Regions from separate parts of the Homo sapiens genome. Here regions 1, 3 and 4 are each linked to region 2. The links are contacts of gene promoters, found by promoter capture Hi-C in blood cells and fetal thymus (Javierre and others, 2016). All regions are on one chromosome and are shown on one strand. Each heading gives the region's core, a stretch centred on a gene start or on the middle of the fragment in contact. The rest is flanking DNA. Distances are from core to core; before and after follow the strand shown. Region 1 overlaps PPP1R37 (protein phosphatase 1 regulatory subunit 37). Region 2 holds the start of PPP1R13L (protein phosphatase 1 regulatory subunit 13 like). Region 3 overlaps FBXO46 (F-box protein 46). Region 4 overlaps QPCTL (glutaminyl-peptide cyclotransferase like).

The links. Contacts are between HindIII fragments. The CHiCAGO score rates a contact against its expected background, and 5 or more counts as called.
Region 1: a contact is called between a fragment that was not itself captured here and the fragment with the promoter of PPP1R13L in region 2, in 1 of 17 cell types (M1 macrophages). The highest score is 5.1, in M1 macrophages.
Region 3: a contact is called between a fragment that was not itself captured here and the fragment with the promoter of PPP1R13L in region 2, in 3 of 17 cell types (naive CD4 T cells, monocytes and activated CD4 T cells). The highest score is 6.0, in naive CD4 T cells.
Region 4: a contact is called between a fragment that was not itself captured here and the fragment with the promoter of PPP1R13L in region 2, in 4 of 17 cell types (naive CD4 T cells, total CD8 T cells, naive B cells and 1 more). The highest score is 5.9, in naive CD4 T cells.

What each region holds. Positions count from the first base shown.
Region 1 is chr19:45,107,896-45,112,111 of GRCh38, reverse strand. All of the region lies in intron 1 of PPP1R37 (protein phosphatase 1 regulatory subunit 37), which reads right to left. Among named protein-coding and RNA genes, the nearest start is that of PPP1R37, 17 kb to the right of the region's middle. The HindIII fragment of the contact is 859 bases long and covers 1,258-2,116 here.
Region 2 is chr19:45,401,699-45,406,373 of GRCh38, reverse strand. PPP1R13L (protein phosphatase 1 regulatory subunit 13 like) reads left to right here and starts at 1,305. Exons shown (of 13, transcript NM_006663.4): 1 at 1,305-1,375. RefSeq lists enhancers at 454-653, 624-1,419 and silencers at 3,579-3,668, 3,709-3,958. The HindIII fragment of the contact is 7,528 bases long and covers 1-4,675 here.
Region 3 is chr19:45,711,024-45,715,874 of GRCh38, reverse strand. FBXO46 (F-box protein 46) reads left to right here. Exons shown (of 2, transcript NM_001080469.2): 2 at 2,302-4,851. The coding sequence starts at 2,380. The coding sequence ends at 4,191. Among named protein-coding and RNA genes, the nearest start is that of FBXO46, 17 kb to the left of the region's middle. The HindIII fragment of the contact is 4,746 bases long and covers 440-4,851 here.
Region 4 is chr19:45,694,269-45,698,561 of GRCh38, reverse strand. QPCTL (glutaminyl-peptide cyclotransferase like) reads right to left here. Exons shown (of 7, transcript NM_017659.4): 3 at 2,844-3,125; 4 at 1-15. Among named protein-coding and RNA genes, the nearest start is that of QPCTL, 3.7 kb to the right of the region's middle. The HindIII fragment of the contact is 4,323 bases long and covers 496-4,293 here.

The DNA.
Region 1 (4,216 bases), core at 438-2,937, 290 kb after region 2:
TAATCCCAGCTGGGATTTGGGAGGCTGAGGCAGGAGAATCGCCTGAATTCAGGATGCAGAGGTTGTAGTGAGCCAAGATTATGCCACTGCACTCCAGCCTGGACGACAGAGCGAGACTGTCTCAAAAGAAAAAAAAAAAGAAAGAAAAGAAAAACCAAGACCCAGGAATTTCCTCACAATACCATGTTTATGAAACTCAAAAACAGGCAGAACGAAACACCATGCTTTTCAGCATGCAGACATGGTTGATAAAACTTTTAAAAAGGCCACCTGATGACCCTTTCCCTTTTTATTGAACCTGACACACCTGTCCCTCACCCATCCACCCCCGCCCCCCGCAAAAAATAAAAAACACAGAATGACAATGACAACAGTCAGGACAGTGGGCTCCCTCCACCCACCCACAGGCAGAGGTGAGTTAATGGCAATGTTCTCACTCTGAAATTAGGAGGGAGGCTCACAGGTCTTCAACATATTACACTTCAACAACTTACATGTACATTACATACATATTCCATATGCCAAGAAGATAAATGGGCTGGGCAAGGTGGCCCATGCCTGTAATCCCAGTACTTTGGGAGATCGAGGCAGGCGGATCACCTGAGGTCGGGATTCGAGACCAGCCTGGCCAACAAGGCAAAACCTTGTCTCTACTAAAAAAATACAAAAGTTAGCTGGGTGTGGTGGTGCGCACTTGTAATCCCAGCTACTCAGGAGGCTGTGGCTGGAGAATTGCTTGAACCCGGGAGGCAGAAGTTGTGGTGAGCCGAGATTGCACCACTGCACTCCAGCCTGGGTGACAGAGTAAGACTCTGTCTCAATTAAAAATAATAATAATAATAATAATAATAATTAAAAAGCAGAAGGGAGGGAGAAGAGTGTTGCAACAGACAGAACAGCATGTGCAAAGGCTCAGAGGAGACAGAGCTCTTGGAGCCTTGGGGAACTGAAGATCACTGTCAGGGTCAAATGAGCATACAGGCAAGACAATCCGGCAGAGGACTCAGCAGAGCTGGGGGCACCGAGGTGCTTGACAAGGGTTTGCTGAGTCATTTAGTGGCTCAATGCTTCCTAGCACTGCCACCCACCCAAGTCCTCAGTAGGTGACAGGGCCAGGCTCGGGAAAGGGGGCCTCTGAGGAAAGCCCAGCACTCATCGGTAGACATTCAGTCCTGCCAGAACCAGGCAGGCTATTTCGGGCCACCTGCCTCAGGCTTCTGGTCATGGGTACCAGATGGCCATCTGAATTCAGAAGCTTTGGGAGTGCTTTAGATTGGAATTTTAGAAACTGTAAGCTGTTTACTGGTCCAGCAAAGGCTCCAGTGATGGAAACCAGGTGCTTGGAATTTCTTACTGCCCACCCTCACCTTCCTCCTTCATAACAAGAGGGTAATGCCACCAACCCTCAGAGGTCTGTTTGGGAACTAATGAACATATTTTCATTCATTCATTCTTTATGCAACAACCTGGGCTAGGCAGACAGCCGTGAACAAAACAGGGCTGGTCCCTGCCCTCAAGGACTGGGAGGAAGGCAAACAAATCACCCAAAAATTTACCAGTTATAAGAAGAAAATGCATATTATAGGGGAAAACACAGGGGATACAAATTCAGATTTGGAGGAATAGTTAGAAAAGACCCATAAGAGAAAAGAACATTTCGACTGAGACCTAAAAGATGAGTAAAAGTAAGAAATGTGGCCAGGTGCAATGGCTCATGGCTGTAATCCCAGCACTCTCGGAGGCCAAGGCAGGAGGATCACTTGAGCCCAGGAATTTAAGACTAGCCTGGGCAACACAGGGAAACCCCGTCTCTACAAAAAATCCAAAAATTAGCCAGGTGTAGTGGTACGTGCCTGTGGTCCCAGCTACTCAGAAGGCTGAGGCGGGAGGATCACCTGGGCCCAGGAGATCTAGACTGCAGTGAGCCATGACCACGCCACAGCACTGCAACCTGGGAGACAGAGCAAGACTCTGTCTCAACAAAAAAAAAAAAAAGAAAAAGGGAATTCATTAATTCCTTCAAATATTTATTGTTGTCTATTCTATGCCAGGCACTATTCTAGGTGCCAGGCTACACTGGTGAACAAAAAAGCCAGACATCCCATCTCAAGAAGCTTACACTGGATGGGGACAGGAGGCCATAAGCCAACAGGAGCCACACAAAAGTCCAGGCCATCCTTCCAGACAGAGGGAAGAGTCGGTTCTGAGGACCCTCCAACAGGGCAGAGGGGGAGCAGAGCTGAGGCTGCAGATGCAGGTGGGCGACAGATCCTCAGGGCAAAGAACAGTATTCCTGAAGAGTCAGGAAGCTACTGGAAGGAAACAGCACATGACATACAGGACCCTCATACAGAGGGTGCTGATGACGTGGTGGCCATGGCTGTGGGAGACGAGGGAGTCCAGGCTCCTGCTGAAACTTGAGGCTCCTGGGACTTGCTGAGCCTCCATAGCTGTGGTGGGCTGGATGTGTCCAGGGACCCAGGCAGGGCTGCCCTGGCTTCTGCCATCTTCAGCAAGTGACCAATGACCCCAAGTAGCAGTTTCTTATCTGCAAAAATGTGGGGCACCAGCAGGTTCACCGAGTCACTCAGCCTGGTGCTCAGCAAATGGGGCTGGAGTTGTGGTTACAGTGGACCCTCTGTAACCTGCTAACCCTTTTCCCAGGCCGGGCCTCCACTAAAGCACCCTCTCTCCTACACTGCAGGGCCTCCAAGGCCTGGGCTGCCACTGCCTCCTCTGCCCTCTCTGAGGGCCCCAGCCCTGTGTTTCTCCATCCCAAGCTGTTCACACTGAGATGGGGCTTTGCTATGATGACTCGGTGAAATAGCAGAGGAGAAAGTGCTTCTCTTTAGTGTCCTGCACCCCTGTCCCCCACCTTTCCTGCAAGGCAAATGATAAATGAGGACAAATATATCTGCACAATAAAATTACATCTATCTTCAATAGAGGAGTCCTTATAAAGGTCCCAAAATAAAAATAGGCAAAGGGCATGAAGAACCAATTCCCAGAACCATGTAACATGTTAACAATAAACAGGTTAGGTCGGGCGCAGTGGCTCATGCCTGTAATCCCAGCACTTTGGGAGGCCAAGACAGGAGGATCACTTGAGGCCAGGAGTTCGAGACCATCCTGGGCAACATAGCGAGACCTCATCTCTACAAAAAACAAAAAAGACCAGGCACGGTAGTTCACGCCTGTCATCCCAGACTTTGGGAGGCCAAGGCGCGTGGATCACCTGAGGTCGGGAGTTACAGACCAGCCTGACCAACATGGAGAAATCCTGTCTCTACAAAACATACAAAATTAGCCGGGTGTGGTGGTGCATGCCTGTAATCCCAGCTACTCGGGAGGCTGTGGCAGGAGAATCGCTTGAACCTGGGAGGCGGAAGTTGTGATGACCTGAGATCGCGCCATTGCACTCCAGCCTGGGCAACAAGAGTGAAACTCCATTAAAAAAAAAAAAAAACCCACAAAAATACAAAACAAACAAACAAAACCGAAGTTAACTAGTAGTCAAAAGAACGCTCGCTAAAACAAGACACCATCTTAACATCAAGGCACCCACATGCAAATACTATTCATTCAATCATTAAAAAAAAAATCTGGTCAGGTGCAGTGACTCACGCCTGCAATTCCAGCACTTTGGGATGCTGAGGCAGGCAGATCACCTGAGATCAGGAGTTTGAGACCAGCCTGGCCAACAGTGAAACCCCGTCTCTACTAAAAATACGAAAATTAGCCGGGCGTGGTGGTGCGCGCCTATAATCCCAGCTACTCGGGAGGCTAAGGCAGGAGAATGGCTTGAGCCTAGGAGGTGGAGTTTGCAGTCAGCCAAGATCACGCCACTGCACTCCAGCTTGAGGGACAGATCGAGACCCTGTCTCTGGCCATGGTTTAAACCTCAAAAGCAGAAAAAAAGAGAGAGACCCTCTCTCAGAAAAAAATCTAAAGCTACAGTGGTGACTATGACGACAGAACCCTAGCCCTCAACACTCACTGTCCAATGTGGGCACAGCCAGTATCTGAGACTTCCAATGTTCCTTCCCTTTGACCTGGTAAAATCACCTTCTAAGAATTTTTTCTAAGAAGGCTACCCGTGTGATGAGCATGAAGATTTATGGACAAGGACGAACATCACTGCATTATCTATGCAACTGAAAACTGGAAAGGACCTAAACGCTCAGCAATGCGGAAATGGCTAGAATGAATTACAACA
Region 2 (4,675 bases), core at 56-2,555:
CCTTAAAGGGGCAGCCACACTGCTCTTCCTAAGCCTTAAAGAGACAGGACGGTCGATTGGTCTGAAATTCTTGAAGAGACAGGTAAGAATACTAGTTAGTAGGGCTGTGCTTTCTGTGTTAAATGTCTTCTGGGGAGGCCCAGATGCCTCACAAGTTCAGAACTTGACTGGGAGAAGCGGGAAAATGGAGAAATAGGGGCAATCCGTCCGGAGGGCGTGAAGTTCCAGCCAGGGGCGGGGCTTCTGGACTCCGGGGGAGCGGGAAACATAGGGGGAGGAGCTTGTGGTTCTCGAGGGCGGAGCCTCGGACCCAGGAGCCCCACACGCGTGGAGTGGTGCTGGGCACGGTGTAGCGTTTGTGGATCAAATGGGACTTGTAGATGCCCTCGGGGGTTTAGTCTCATGCGTGGGAAACCTCGATGACTTTCAGGAAGGGACCTGATCGGCGACTCCTCCCTGCCCCAGGGAGCGTGTAAACAGCGGCACGTGGACACAGATTTGGGGGACGCACCCACTTCCCTTCCCACTGGGGCCGCCCCGCGTTGGGCGGCGGTTGGAGCCGCGAGACGGTGGCTAGACAGGGTGACCCGACTGCATTCCTGGCCAGTGTGTCAGCGCCACTTCCCGCCCCCTCTGCCAAGATTTAGGATCCTACTCCAGAATTGGGGCACCCCTTCTCCCCAGGTGGGAGAGGCTTTCCAGAGCGGAGGGAGGGTCAAGGGGAAGGGGAAATGTTTCCCCTATCCAGGATCTCCAGACGGTTTCCTTCGCGTGGGCGAGAGAGACACCGGGGTGCAGCCCCTGCGGGCTCCAGGACTACAATTCCCACAGGACCCGAGGCAAAGAGTCGCCCGAGGGCGGTCGCGGAGGCTGCTGGGGGTTGTAGTCCAAACTAAGATTTTGAACTCTTGCTGGGACATCCTTTGAAGATCCAACCCGCGCTTTTTATCGACGGGGAGATTCGGGCTCAGAGACCCTGGGGGATACTGATCAGGAAAGGGGATAGTGCGCCTGAAGGGGTGGGGCAAGGGCTCAGGAGTCAGTCTCCAGCCACAGCGAGGCAGGCGTCTCGGCTCTTCTGTATCTCCCTGGCCTGGTCGCTCTCGGCTTCTGGGCCTCGCCCTTCCTGTCTGTGAAATGGACTCTGGGTGAATCCAAATGGGATCGTCTTGGGCTACGTCCTGTCCCTCCGGGACTACAAGTCCCAAGGTGCTCGAGGCGACCTTGGCTCCCCCTCCCCACCGGGACCCGCCTCCCTCCAGCCCAAGTCACGTCGTCTAACCTGTTCCCAGCTCCTGCCCCGCCCCGTTCTCCGCTCCCCAAGCCGGAGCCCGAGCTGGAGGAAGCCCCCAGGTGCCAGGATCTGCCCGGATCCGTGAGTTTCACCCTCCTGGGGACCAGAGGCCCTGAAAAAGCCCAACACCCGCGTCCCTGGGAGGATTGGGAGGGGACTCGGACGCCAGGTCCCAGGGCGGAATTTGGGGCGCGCCGACACCTGGATCCTTAGAAGGAAACTCCGTTGCCTGTTTTACTGGAGGGAAGGAAAGCGGGTTCGGATGCCTGAATTCTTGGAATGGAGGGATTCTACCCCTTCATCCCGGGGAGACGTTGGAGCTGGAATTCCTGAGTCCCTCGAACTGGGGGGCTCTAGGAAGCCGAGTCTTTGGGTAGTATAGGGGTTCGAATCCCCGAGTCTTGGTCAGAAATGAGAGGCTCAGACTGGTGGGGCTCAAGGTGGAATGGGTGACCACCCTGCCAGCCTCAAGCTGCTGTCTCGACCGATCTTCTAGGTCTCTGAGCAGAATTAAGGGTGGGGCAGGGATAGTGGAGCCTGGGTTCCTGAAGTGGAGCAGGACAGGTACCCGGGGTCCCTCCGGAGGCTGTGTCCCGGCTCTCCCCCGACTTTTCGGCTCGGGGATGGGGGCGGGGTAGGAGAGAAAACACCGAGGCAGATCTCCAACCTCCTCTGTGCCGCTGAGCGAACCCAACATGTCATTAACCTGGGCGTCAGACCTGCCTAACCAGAGAAGGGACATCCGCCCTAGGGCACCCCCTGGCGGAGGTGGGCTCCCCTATTGCCTTATGGGGTGGGAAACAGCTGGGTTTGCAGAGGTAGTTCTAGAACCCAGGGCAGAATTCCGGAAAGCGGCTATTGGATTCTGGGAGGTTTGCATAGCCGGGCATTTAACCATTACACGGAGAGGAAGGGGTAAACTGAGGCTTGGAGCTCACACAGGCAGTAGAGTTTGTAGGGTCAGGATTCTGCCTCCTCCTTCTTCTGCAGCTCTCTGGGGGACGGGATTCCATCCGCCCCCGCCAGATTTTCTGACTAACCTTCTGCCTCAGGGCTCCTTGCCCTGACCCTGAGGTGAGAAATGTCACCTCCACGCCCATCTGTCTGACCTGGGGTATTGTGGGAGATAAGGGAGGGACAGAGGCTAATTCTGGAGGTGTCTGTCTGTCCTTGAGGCGGGGGGAGGGCAGGACCAGGCACCTCCCTCTGTCTATCTCCCCGTTCTCTCCACCCCCATGCGTCCTAAGAAGGGGGATTAAAAACAGAATGGGGGAGGCGAGCATCTGATGAGAGAGGAGTGTTTCCCAATGTCTGGGCTTGAAGGGCATTTGATGATAACCTGAAATGAAATTAAAAATAATAACCGTGGTTGCCAAAACAGGGCTCTGGGTGTACCAAGCTCAGAGCTGGTAGGTAGGTAGGTAGGAAAGCTCGCATTGTCTAGAGGAATCTTGGGTGACTGAGAGGTCTCCCTTTGAATAAGGTTTGCTGACCCCAGGGAAGGACTCCTCATTACGAGTGGAGAAACGGAGGCTGGAGAGTGGATATTGCCCACACCCTGGGCTTTTGCCAGCTTCTGTCTGGAATCTTCCAGGGCTCTCCCAGCCCTCCCGTCCCTAAGTGACTGAGGGTGATCACTGGCCAGACTCAGGAATGTACAGGGGAAATTTAGGACTCTGAGAGGCAAGGGCTCAGGAAGTTGAGACCCTGGGTGTCAAAACTCAGGGCTTGTATGATCTCAGAAAGAGTTGAAAGGGCCCTTTTAGGGGAAAAAAAAATTACATTGAGTCTGGACCCCTCACTCTGTTGCCAGACCCTGTGTTATTATAATGAACAGCCAAGGACATCTGGTAATTATGAATCCTGTATGTGTGAACTTTATTTCGCGCACTGCATTGTTCTAATCACGGCTTATAAATTATGTCACTCAATCCTCATACCCCTTTGAGGCGAAGGTATTAATTCTTCCCATGGTCCACATGAGGAAACAGGCACAGAGAAGCTAAATAACAAGCCCAAGTAGAGGCTTAGAGCAAGAAAGGCCCTAGCCCATTCCATAGACGTCCACAAAGGAGGAAACCGAGTCCCAGAGACAGTGGAGCCTCTCCAGATTCAGTGTGACCCGACAGGGCTGTAGGAGTCCAGCCTGGGTGTTCCCAGCTCAGTCTGGCTCTCTGACCCGGTTCCTACTGAAGATGACTCCTCCAGGAAGTCCACAGGATCCTTAGCCCTAAAGAACCTGGCTGGGGTGCAGAGGAGGCCAGGGAAGGAGAGCCAGGGGTGGAGCGGAGAGAGGAGCCCAGGGGAGAGTACCTGCGGCTGGCCCAGAGCCCGCGGGAGAGCTCGGAGCTAGAGCTAGAGGGGAGCACATGGGAGAGGACTCGGAGGCAGAGGTCAGGGGCAGAGGCCTGGGAACAGACACACGGCCCGCGCCACCCCCGCGCCCCGCCCTTGTACCCCGCCCGGCCCAGCTCCCTTGCCCCGGGATGTACAGCACCTGCCCGGGCCCGCTGCGCATTCCCCGGGCCTGAGCTCAGGCGCAGTCCGCCCTCCTGGCGGGGGTCCGGGCGTGACCGCCCCCTGGTGGCTCCGACGTCCCCACCGCCTGTCCCCGCGACAGCCCCACACCCAGGGTTGGCATTTCCTGAGAGCCAGAGAATGTCAGTATGGAATCTGAGAATCTTGGAAATTTGGGGATCATGGCGCCGTGGCTCACGCCTGTAATCCCAATACTTTGGGAGATCGAGCCGGGGAGGATCCCATGAGGCTAGGAGTTCGAGACCAGCCTAACCACAGGCGCGAGAGAGACTAAATCTCTACCAAAAGAAAAAAAAAGAGTCACTTACAGCTGGCATTAGGGCTGCACAGACTTGCTCATTTATCTATTTTAACAGTTAACAAAGTATTGTTTGTGTATCTCTGAAATTCTAAATGCCCGAGTTTTTATTCCTGTAGTCTCTTCTTCCTGAGGCCTCAATTCTCAGAGCTCTGAATTCTTCCTGCACCTTCTGACCAGGTGGATTCTTACAGTAGTCCTATGAGGTGAACTTTCATCCCCATTTTACGGATTACGAGACTGAGGTACTGTGGTCAGGGTTGGACGGTGGTGCTGCCAGATTTGATGATTTTATTTTAATTTTTTTTAAGAAATGGGGTCTCATTGTGTTGGCCATGTTGGTCTTGAACTCCTGGCCTCAAGTGATCCTCCCCCCTCGGCCTCCCAAAGTGCAAGGATTACAGGCAGAAGCTACCATGCCCGGCCCTCAGATTTGAATTTTTGAAGTCTGACTTCTTACTCATGCTTTTACCAGCTGCACTATACCATCCATCTAGACTTCCAGAGCAGTGCAACCCTGGGTTAGGTAGAATGTGGTACAGAAA
Region 3 (4,851 bases), core at 1,563-4,062, 310 kb before region 2:
TACCTGTGAGTGCTTGGAGGCTGTCTGGATTTTGTTTTGTTTTCTTTCTTTTTTTTTTTTTTTTTTTTGAGATGGAGTTTAGCTCTTGTCGCCCAGGCTGGAGTGCAGTGGCAAGATCTCAGTTCACTGCAACCTCCGCCTCCCGGTTCAAGCTATTCTCCTGCCTCAGCCTCCTGAGTAGATGGGACTACAGGCGCGCACCACCACGCCTGGCTAATTTTTGTATTTTTAGTAGAGACGGGGTTTTGCCATGTTAGCCAGGCTGATCTCGAATTCCTGACATCAGATGATCCGCCTGCCTCGGCCTCCCAAAGTGCTGGGATTACAGGTGTGAGCCACTGTGCCAGGCCTGGAATTGTTTGAATTTAGAGGGATGGTCTGTACTGCAGGAGTTGGCAAACTTTTTCCATAAAGAGCCAGATAATGGGTATTTTAAGCTTTGCAGGCCATGTGGTCTTTGTTCTGCTATTCAGCTCTGCTGTTGAAGATGAAAGCATCCATAAACAAATGAGCATGTTTCAATAAAACTTTATTTACAAAGACAGCGAGCTGGATTAGGCTTCTGGGCCATAGTTTGCTGACCTCTCTGGCCTGTAGGCATGTGGAAGTTTCAAGGTTTAAAGGGTCATTTTGGTTTTGAGCTGTCTGGAGGGAGATGAGCCAGAGAAAGATTGAGGCATATGTTACTTAGTAGGTTCAAACTGCAGTGAAAGTGATCATGTCGGACTCATGCGCAAGATTGCCTCCAGATTAGGTCATTCACATCAAGTCATTCCAAAATAAAATAGTCATTAACAGAGCCCTAAATTGAAGAGTCCAGAAATCAAGTTGAGAGCCTCTTTTTGCTCCGGACCCACTGTAATCTTAGCTATGTCACCCTTCCCCACTCTGAGCCTCTGTTTATCTGTGTGCAGCTTGAGGAGAAAGCTAGGCTAGAACAGGCACCCTCGTGTTTTCTTTCTTTTTTTTTCCCAAGATGGGTTCTCTCTCAGTCACCCAGGCTGGAGTGCAGTGGTATGATCACAGCATCACAGCTCACTGCAGCCTCCACCTCCTGGGCTCAAGCGATACTCCCACCTCAGCCTCCCAACTAGCTGGGACTACAGGTGCGCCACACCCCACCCGGCTAATTTTTGTATCTTTTTTCGTAGAGATGGATTTTGCCCAGGCTGGTCTCAAACTCCTGGGCTCAAGCAATCTGCCCACCTCGGCCTCCCAAAGTGCTAAGATTACAGGCACAAGCCACCACACCCGGCTTTGTTCTCTGTTTTTTAGAGGGTCTCACTCTGTCACCCGGGTTGGAGTGCAGTGGTGCCATCATTGCTCCCTGCAGCCTGGAACTCCTCCTAGGCTCTAGAACAGGCCCTCTTACTCCGCGGGTCCACGGCTGTGCTTTAGGGAATCCCCTGTACTGTCTTTGCAAGGGTGTGCATTTTTCTGACTGAGGACACACAGCTTTAATAAATTCTCATTAAGCCCCACTACCTGAAAAAAAAAAAGAAAAGCCGATTTCTTAAGTGCTTGTCTGAATCTGACCTCAGATTTTCATCCCCATCCCAGCGCATTTCGTTCCTCTCTCTGTGGGTTTAAGCAGCCATAGCTGTGGGTGGGGCTGGGAATTTCTGTCTTTTCAGGAACGAGCTACTGAGTGAGCAAATAGAAAAAGGACCTTGTCTGTCAGTGGTCCTTTCACTTAAGTGTAAAAGTTATGGCAGTTTAAAGGCCTCTGGATTGTGGGCAAAGGCAGTTGGACAGTGGGGTAGGACCTATGGGGTTGGTGCGTGCTGCCAGTTAGGGTCCCGCTCTGCAAGTTAAAAGGGCATCTCTCATCCCCTCTGCAACCTCTGTCTGCTCACCTGAGCATGGCAGTGGGAATAGAGTTCTTTTTTTTTTTTTTTTTTTTTTTGAGACGGAGTTTCGCTCTTGTCGCCCAGGCTGGAGTGTAATGGTGCCATCTGGTCTCGCTGCAACCTCCACCTCCCAGGTTCAAGCGATTCTCGTGCCTCAGCCTCCCAAGTAGCTTGGATTACAGGCGTGGACTATCACGCCCAGCACATTTTTGTATTTTTAGTAGAGATGGGGTATCACCATGTTGGCCAGGCTGGTCTCAAACTCCTGACCTCAGGTGATCTGCCCACCTCAGCCTCCCAAAGTGCTGGGATTACAGGCGTGAGCCACCGCGCCCAGCCAGGAATAGAGTTCTTGATGGTCTGGTTTGGTCTAAGGAGAGGTGGAGGTTGGGGTGGTCCTGGGAAGAAAGGCTGTCCCCCTAGCTCCCCAACCTCCTCTTCGTGTCTCCAGGTGGCATGTGGAGCCTCCCACCACCACCTAGGTCCTGAGATGCGCTGAAGCCCAGCCTGTCTGCCATCATCCCCCAGCATGGACCGTGGGAGCCTCCTGCCCTTCCAGCTATGGTGCCCCCGGCCCTTTGGCACCTACTCACAGAACCAGCCACGCCCGCCTTCTGCGGCCCTCAAGCCATCAGCCTGCCCTGAGCCTGGTGGCGGGGCCGAGCCAGACCATGGGCCTGCCCACTCAGAGAACACACCACCCGCCTTGGCCACTGAGGTCCCTGCCTCCCAGCCGGCTCCGCTCCTCTCAGCAGCAGCTGCTGGTGATGAGGGTCGAGTCCTCCTGGACACGTGGTATGTCATCAAGCCCGGGAATACAAAGGAGAAGGTGGCCTTCTTTGTGGCCCACCAGTGTGGTGGGGGCAGCCGGGCCAGCTCCATGAAGGTCAAGGGGCACTGGGGCAGCGATAGCTCCAAGGCCAAGCGGCGGAGGCGCTGTCTTGACCCCACCAAGGCTCCTCCTGACCCAGGGGGCCGGGAGGGCCCCCCTGCTGCTGAGGAGGGCCCCGCCTCAGCCGGTGAGGACGTGGACCTGCTCTCTGTGGCCGAGATGGTGGCCCTGGTGGAACAGCGGGCAGCCCTGGCCCTGCAGAGCTACCCACGACCGACCACCCCAGCGCCTGTAGTCTTTGTGTCCGCCGAGCAAGGTGGACCGGCCAAGGGGGTGGGATCTGAACGGCGGTCCGGTGGTGGGGACTGCAGCCGTGTAGCCGAGGCCGTGGCCCACTTTGAAGCGCAGAGGGACAGCCCTCCCACCAAGGGCCTCCGCAAGGAAGAGCGGCCCGGGCCAGGCCCTGGGGAGGTGCGCATCGCCTTCCGCATCTCCAACGGCCGGGAGCCCCGTGCACCAGACAGCGGCCTGCCCAGTGGGGGCGGGGGCAGGCCTGGTTGTGCCTACCCTGGCAGCCCAGGTCCTGGGGCCCGAGCCAAGGACAAGATCACATGTGACTTATACCAGCTCATCAGCCCCTCGCGGGATGCCCTCCCCAGCAACGTGGAGTTCCTGCTGGCCAGGGCGGATGAGGCCAGTGAGGGTGACAGCCCGGCACCCGCCAGGCCTGAGGACACTCCCCCGGCGCCCCCTCCGCCCCCTGCCCGGGACTGCGGAGCGTCAGGCTTCCACGTGGACGTGGTGGTGACGGGCGTGGTAGATGAGTGCATCTTCTTTGGCAAGGACGGCACCAAGAACGTGAAGGAGGAGACTGTGTGCCTGACGGTCAGCCCGGAGGAACCGCCGCCTCCGGGCCAGCTCTTCTTTCTCCAGAACCGCGGGCCGGACGGGCCCCCGGAGCCACCCCCGGCCGACTCCCCGGCCACTGCGCCCGGCCCAGACGATGCCGAGGGCACGGCGGACACCTCCCTGTGCCGCTTGTACCGGCACGTGTCGCACGACTTCCTAGAGATCCGCTTCAAGATTCAGCGGCTGCTGGAGCCGCGACAGTACATGCTGCTGCTGCCCGAGCACGTGCTGGTCAAGATCTTCAGCTTCCTGCCCACGCGCGCGCTGGCCGCCCTCAAGTGCACCTGCCACCACTTCAAGGGCATCATCGAGGCGTTTGGCGTGCGGGCCACAGACTCGCGCTGGAGCCGAGACCCGCTCTACCGCGATGATCCGTGCAAACAGTGCCGCAAGAGATACGAGAAGGGCGACGTGTCGCTCTGCCGCTGGCACCCCAAGCCCTACCACCATGACCTGCCTTACGGACGTTCCTACTGGATGTGCTGCCGTCGAGCCGACCGCGAGACTCCCGGCTGCCGCCTGGGCCTCCACGATAACAACTGGGTGCTGCCCTGCAATGGGCCAGGCGGGGGCCGGGCCGGCCGGGAGGAGGGGAGGTGAAGCCGGGGGAGGGGAGGGGAGAGCCCACCACGCCCACCCCTCCCCTCTCCCCCCGGGAGCCGAGGGTCCGGACTGGGCCGCCTGCCCATTCCCCTACTCCAGGCAGCATTGATCCCTCACCGGAACTGAGCTGGGGTTCAGCAGGGGTGACCCAGGAAAGCCCTCTGCTTGATCCTGTTGATTTTCTACTCTTCAGAACCAGGGCCGTGGACCCTCTGAGAAGGGTGTTTTTTTTTTTTTTATCAGCATCTCACTTTCTTCTCCATTCAGCCCCAACCCCCTCCCTGCCATGCTTTCCACCCCAAGGACCCACCAGCAGGGAGCAGACGGCAGCTAATTTTGGTACCACTTAAGGGTCCCCCCATTCTGGCCCCCATCCTCTCCCTCACCCCAATTCTTTCTCGCTGGAGCTGTTATTTCCCAAGAAGCCGCATCGCCCAAGGTTGGCACCTCTCCTAACCTGCCACACGACAGCTCTCACCTCTCTAGGAATTGGGGGCTGTCAGGTCACAGGTGGGATCTGGCATTTTTTTATGACAGTCCATTTCTAGATGGTTTGCCTATTAAAGAAGTGGGGGGGAAATACTGTTTTCTCCTTAACCTCAAGCTACCAGTCTCTCCTCTTCCGCGTAGAGGAAGAGGGGGGCAGACAAAAAAAAA
Region 4 (4,293 bases), core at 1,408-3,907, 290 kb before region 2:
GGTCACCGGGGCTGCCTGTGGGAGCAGCAGGGGGGTGGCCAGAGCCAGCTCAGGACTAGCCCTCAGCCTCAACATACCCACACTTCTTGCCCGCTTGCATGCTTAAGAGAACACATAAGGTGTCCTCACTCATAGAACGTGGTAGCCAAGAGCACAGATTCCGAGTCAGTTGTCTGGGATCAAATCCGTACTTGGCTGCTTCATAACAAAGCAGGCATGGGGAAGTTACTAACTTCTGGAAGGATCAGTTTCTTCATCTATAAATGGGGTTAATAAGAGGTTTTTTGTTTTTTTTTTGTTTTTTGTTTTTTTTAGAATAAATCTTGCTCTGTCACCCAGGCTGGAGTGGAATGATGCAATCTTGACTCACTGCAACCTCCACCCCCTACCTCCCAGGTTCAAGAGATTCTCCTGCCTCAGCCTCCCATACAGCTGTGACCACAGGTTCCCGCTATCATGCCTGGCTAATTTTTGTATTTTTAGTAGAGACAAGCTTTCACCATGTTGGCCAGGCTGGTCTCGAACTCCTGACCTCAAATGATCCACCTACCTCAGCCTCCCAAAGTGCTGGGATTACAGATGTGAGCCACCGCGCCCGGCAATAACAGTTCTTTTCAAAGGGTAAGGTTTGAATCCAGGTCTTAGAACAGTGCCTGGCATATAACTAAATAAGGGTTATCTCTGATTATTATTCCTCAAGCTCAGTTTGGTGAACCAGATAGATCCACAAATGAATAATTATACAAACAGTGAAATGCAGTTGAGACAAATGCTTCTAAGAACTATAGAGTCCTGAGAGGGCATAGGAAGGAGGCTGGGGGATGACCTGGCCTGGAGAGGGCGTTGGGTCTTTTGGGAAGGGATGTTTGCCATGAGAATGGGTAGGAACTGGCCTGGCAAAATGGAGCAGGAGGAAGAGTATTCCCAGCCAAGGGAGCAACACAGGGCAAGGCTATGGCCAGGGAAGGGGTCCCAGAGGTTTGAGAGGGGTACGGAAGGTTTAGCAAGGGCCAAGGAGTGTGGGCTTTGTTATAGGGACACTGGGGAGGCACAGAGAGGGGTTAAGCAGGGCAGGAGCATGATTAAATCTGTGTTTTTCTTTTCTTTTCTTTTTTTTCTTTCTTTTTTTTTTTTTTGAGACGGAGTCTCGCTGTATCGCCCAGGCTGGCGTACAGTGGCGCGATCTCGGCTCACTGCAAACTCTGCCTCCCGAGTTCACGCCATTCTCCTGCCTCAGCCTCCCAAGTAGCTGGGACTACAGGCGCCCGCCACCACGCCCAGCTAACTTTTTGTATTTTTAGTAGAGACGGGGTTTCACTGTGTTAGCCAGGATGGTCTCAATCTCCTGACCTCACGATCCACCTGCCTTGGCCTCCCAAAGTGCTGGGATTACAGGTGTGAGCCACCGCACCTGGCCTGTGTTTTTCTTTTCTGTTTGTTTTGAGACAGAATCTCGCTCTGTCATCCAGGCTGGAGTGCAGTGGTGCGATCTCGGCTCACTGCAACCTCCGCCTCTCAGTTTCAAGTGATCCTCCTGTCTCAACCTCCCAAGTAGTAGGATTACAGGTATGTACCACCATACCCAGCTAATTTTTGTATTTTTAGTAGAGATGAGGTTTCCCTGTTGGACAAGCTGGGCTCGAACTTCTGACCTCAAATGATCTGCCTGCCTCGGCCTCCCAAAGTGCTGGGATTACAGGTGCGAGTTACCACGCCCGGCCGGGAAGGCCTCTTTGAAGGGGTGACATTGGAGTGGACACCTGAGTGAAGAGTGGGAGCCAGCCAGGAAGATATCTATGAAAAGCATATTCTTTTTTTTTTTTTTAAGAGACAAGGTCTCTGTCACCCAGGCTAGAATACAGTGGCACGATCATGGCTCACTGCAGTCTCAAACTCCTAGACTCAAGCCATCCTCCCCTCTCAGCCTCCCAAGTAGCATGCCACTACTCCCAGATAATTTTTTTTTTTTTTTGAGATGGAGTCTCGCTCTGTTGCCCAGGCTGGAGTGCAGTGGTGCAACTTTGGCTCACTGCAACCTCCGCCTCCCGGGTTCAAGCAATTCTCTGCTTCAGCCTCCCGAGTAGCTGGGGTTACAGGTGTGCACCACCAAGCCTGGCTAATTTTTGTGTTTTTGGTAGAGATGGGGTTTCATCATGTTGGCCAGGCTGGTCTTGAACTCCTGACCTTGTGATCCACCCACCTCAACCTCCCAAAGTGCTGGGATTCCAAGTGTGAGCCACGGAGCCTGGCCAGAAAAGCACATTCTATCCAAAGCAAACAGCAAGTGCAGATGCCCTGAGGTGGGAGCAAGCTCTGCGGGTTTGAGGAACCCAGAGGAGGTGGGGGTGGCTACAGCAGAGTGAGCAAGAGGTGAGGGGTGGGAGATGAGGCTGGAGAGGTAACAGGGCACAGCTCGTGGGCCAATATAAGGACTCTGGATTATGGCTGGAATGAGGCGGGAGCCCTGGGAGGGTTTGGGGGAGAGGAAAGAGAATCTGACATCTAGAAGGTAAAAAGATCCCTGTGATGACCAGGCGCGGTGGCTCACGCCTGTAATCCCAGCACTTTGAGAGGCCGAGGTGGGCAGATCACCTGAGGTTGGGAGGAGAATTGCTTGAACCCAGTAGGCAGAGGTTGCGGGGAGCCAAGATCTCGCCATGTGCACTCCATCCTGGGGAACAAGAGCGAAACTCCGTCTCAAAAAAAAAAAAAAGATCCCTGTGGCTCTGTGCGTGGAGTAGAGTGGGAAGACGAGAGGGATGACAAATGTCCAGGCAAGGGAGGGTGGGGGCTTGGGAAAAGGTGGAGGTAGCCCACTACCCTCCCCGACTCCTGCTCCTCACCTGTTTTTTGGCCCTGCTCAGCTCCAGGTCAAGTGCTTGGGCCAGCTCCAGCAGCAGGGCACAGGGCACAGCCGAATCCGTGGCCCCTACAAAGGGGGTCGATCCGGGTGGGAAGAGCTTCGAGTCATAATGGCAGGCAAGGGTGAGGTGACGGGCAGCCCTTGGGTCCAGTGTGGCCACCACATTGCCAAAGTCCACTGGCCCCAGGGGTGTTGAGGCTGTGAAGGGATCCAGCTCCACGTGCCAACCTGCTGTCAGGGACCGCAGCGTGGCCTCCAGGAACTAGCGGCAAGAGAGAGGTGGGAGGGTGGACGGGGACTGGGGAGGAGGTGGGGAGAAGGGCCACGTGACCTGAGCCATGCAGAGCAGATGGGTTGACACTAAAGCCCCACTCTGATTGAATGGATTTCTTTCTTTCTTTCTTTTTTTTTTTGAGATGGAGTCTTGCTCTGTCACCCAGGCTGGAGTGCAGTGGCTTGATCTTGGCTCACTGCAACCTCTGCCTCCTGGCTTCAAGTGATTCTCCTGACTCAGCCTCCTGAGTAGCTGGGGTTACAGGCGCCCCCTACAACGCCTGGCTATTTTTTGTATTTTTAGTAGAGATGGGGTTTCACAATGTTGGCCAGCCTGGTATTCGAACTCCTGACCTCAAGTGATCTGCCTGCTTCAGCATCCCAAAGTGTTGGGATTACAGATGTGAGCCACTGTGCCCAGCCCCCTACTCTGATTAAAATCATTCCCTTGACAGTGCTGGTGAGTACCTACTGGGTGCCAGATGTTGGGGAGACCCCACCTCTTGAAGCCAGCAAGACTCATCACAGCTTACCCTTAAATAGCTCTCACTGTGTGCTAAGCCCTCTTCTAGGAACCATTTAGGGGAGGGACTGCCAATACATGACCCCATTTTACAGATGAGGAAATGGGCTCAGAGAGGTTAAGAAACTAGTCCAGGCCGGGCGCGGTGGCTCACGCCTGTAATCCCAGCACTTTGGGAGGCTGAGGTGGGCGGATCATAAGGTCAGGAGTTTGAGACCAGCCTGGCCAATATGGTGAAACCCCGTCTCACTAAAAATACAAAAAATTAGCCAGGCATGGTGGTGCACACCTGTAATCCCAGCTACTCAGGAGGCTGAAGCATGAGATTTGCTTGAACCTGGGAGGTGGAGGTTGCAGTGAGCCGAGATCGCGCCACTGCACTCCAACCCAGGCGACAGTGTGAGACTCCATCTCAAAATAAAATAAAATAAAATAAAATAAAAAAGAAACCAGTCCAAGGTCACAATCTAAGTGGATGAGGTAGCATTGGGACTCAGGCAGTATTTAAGTGACTTTTTTTTTTTGAGATGGAGTCTCGCTCTGTCACCCATGCTGGGGTGCAGTGGCGCAATCTCAGCTCACTGCAGTCTCCGCCTCCTGGGTTCAAGTGATTCTCGTGCCTCAGCCTCCCAAG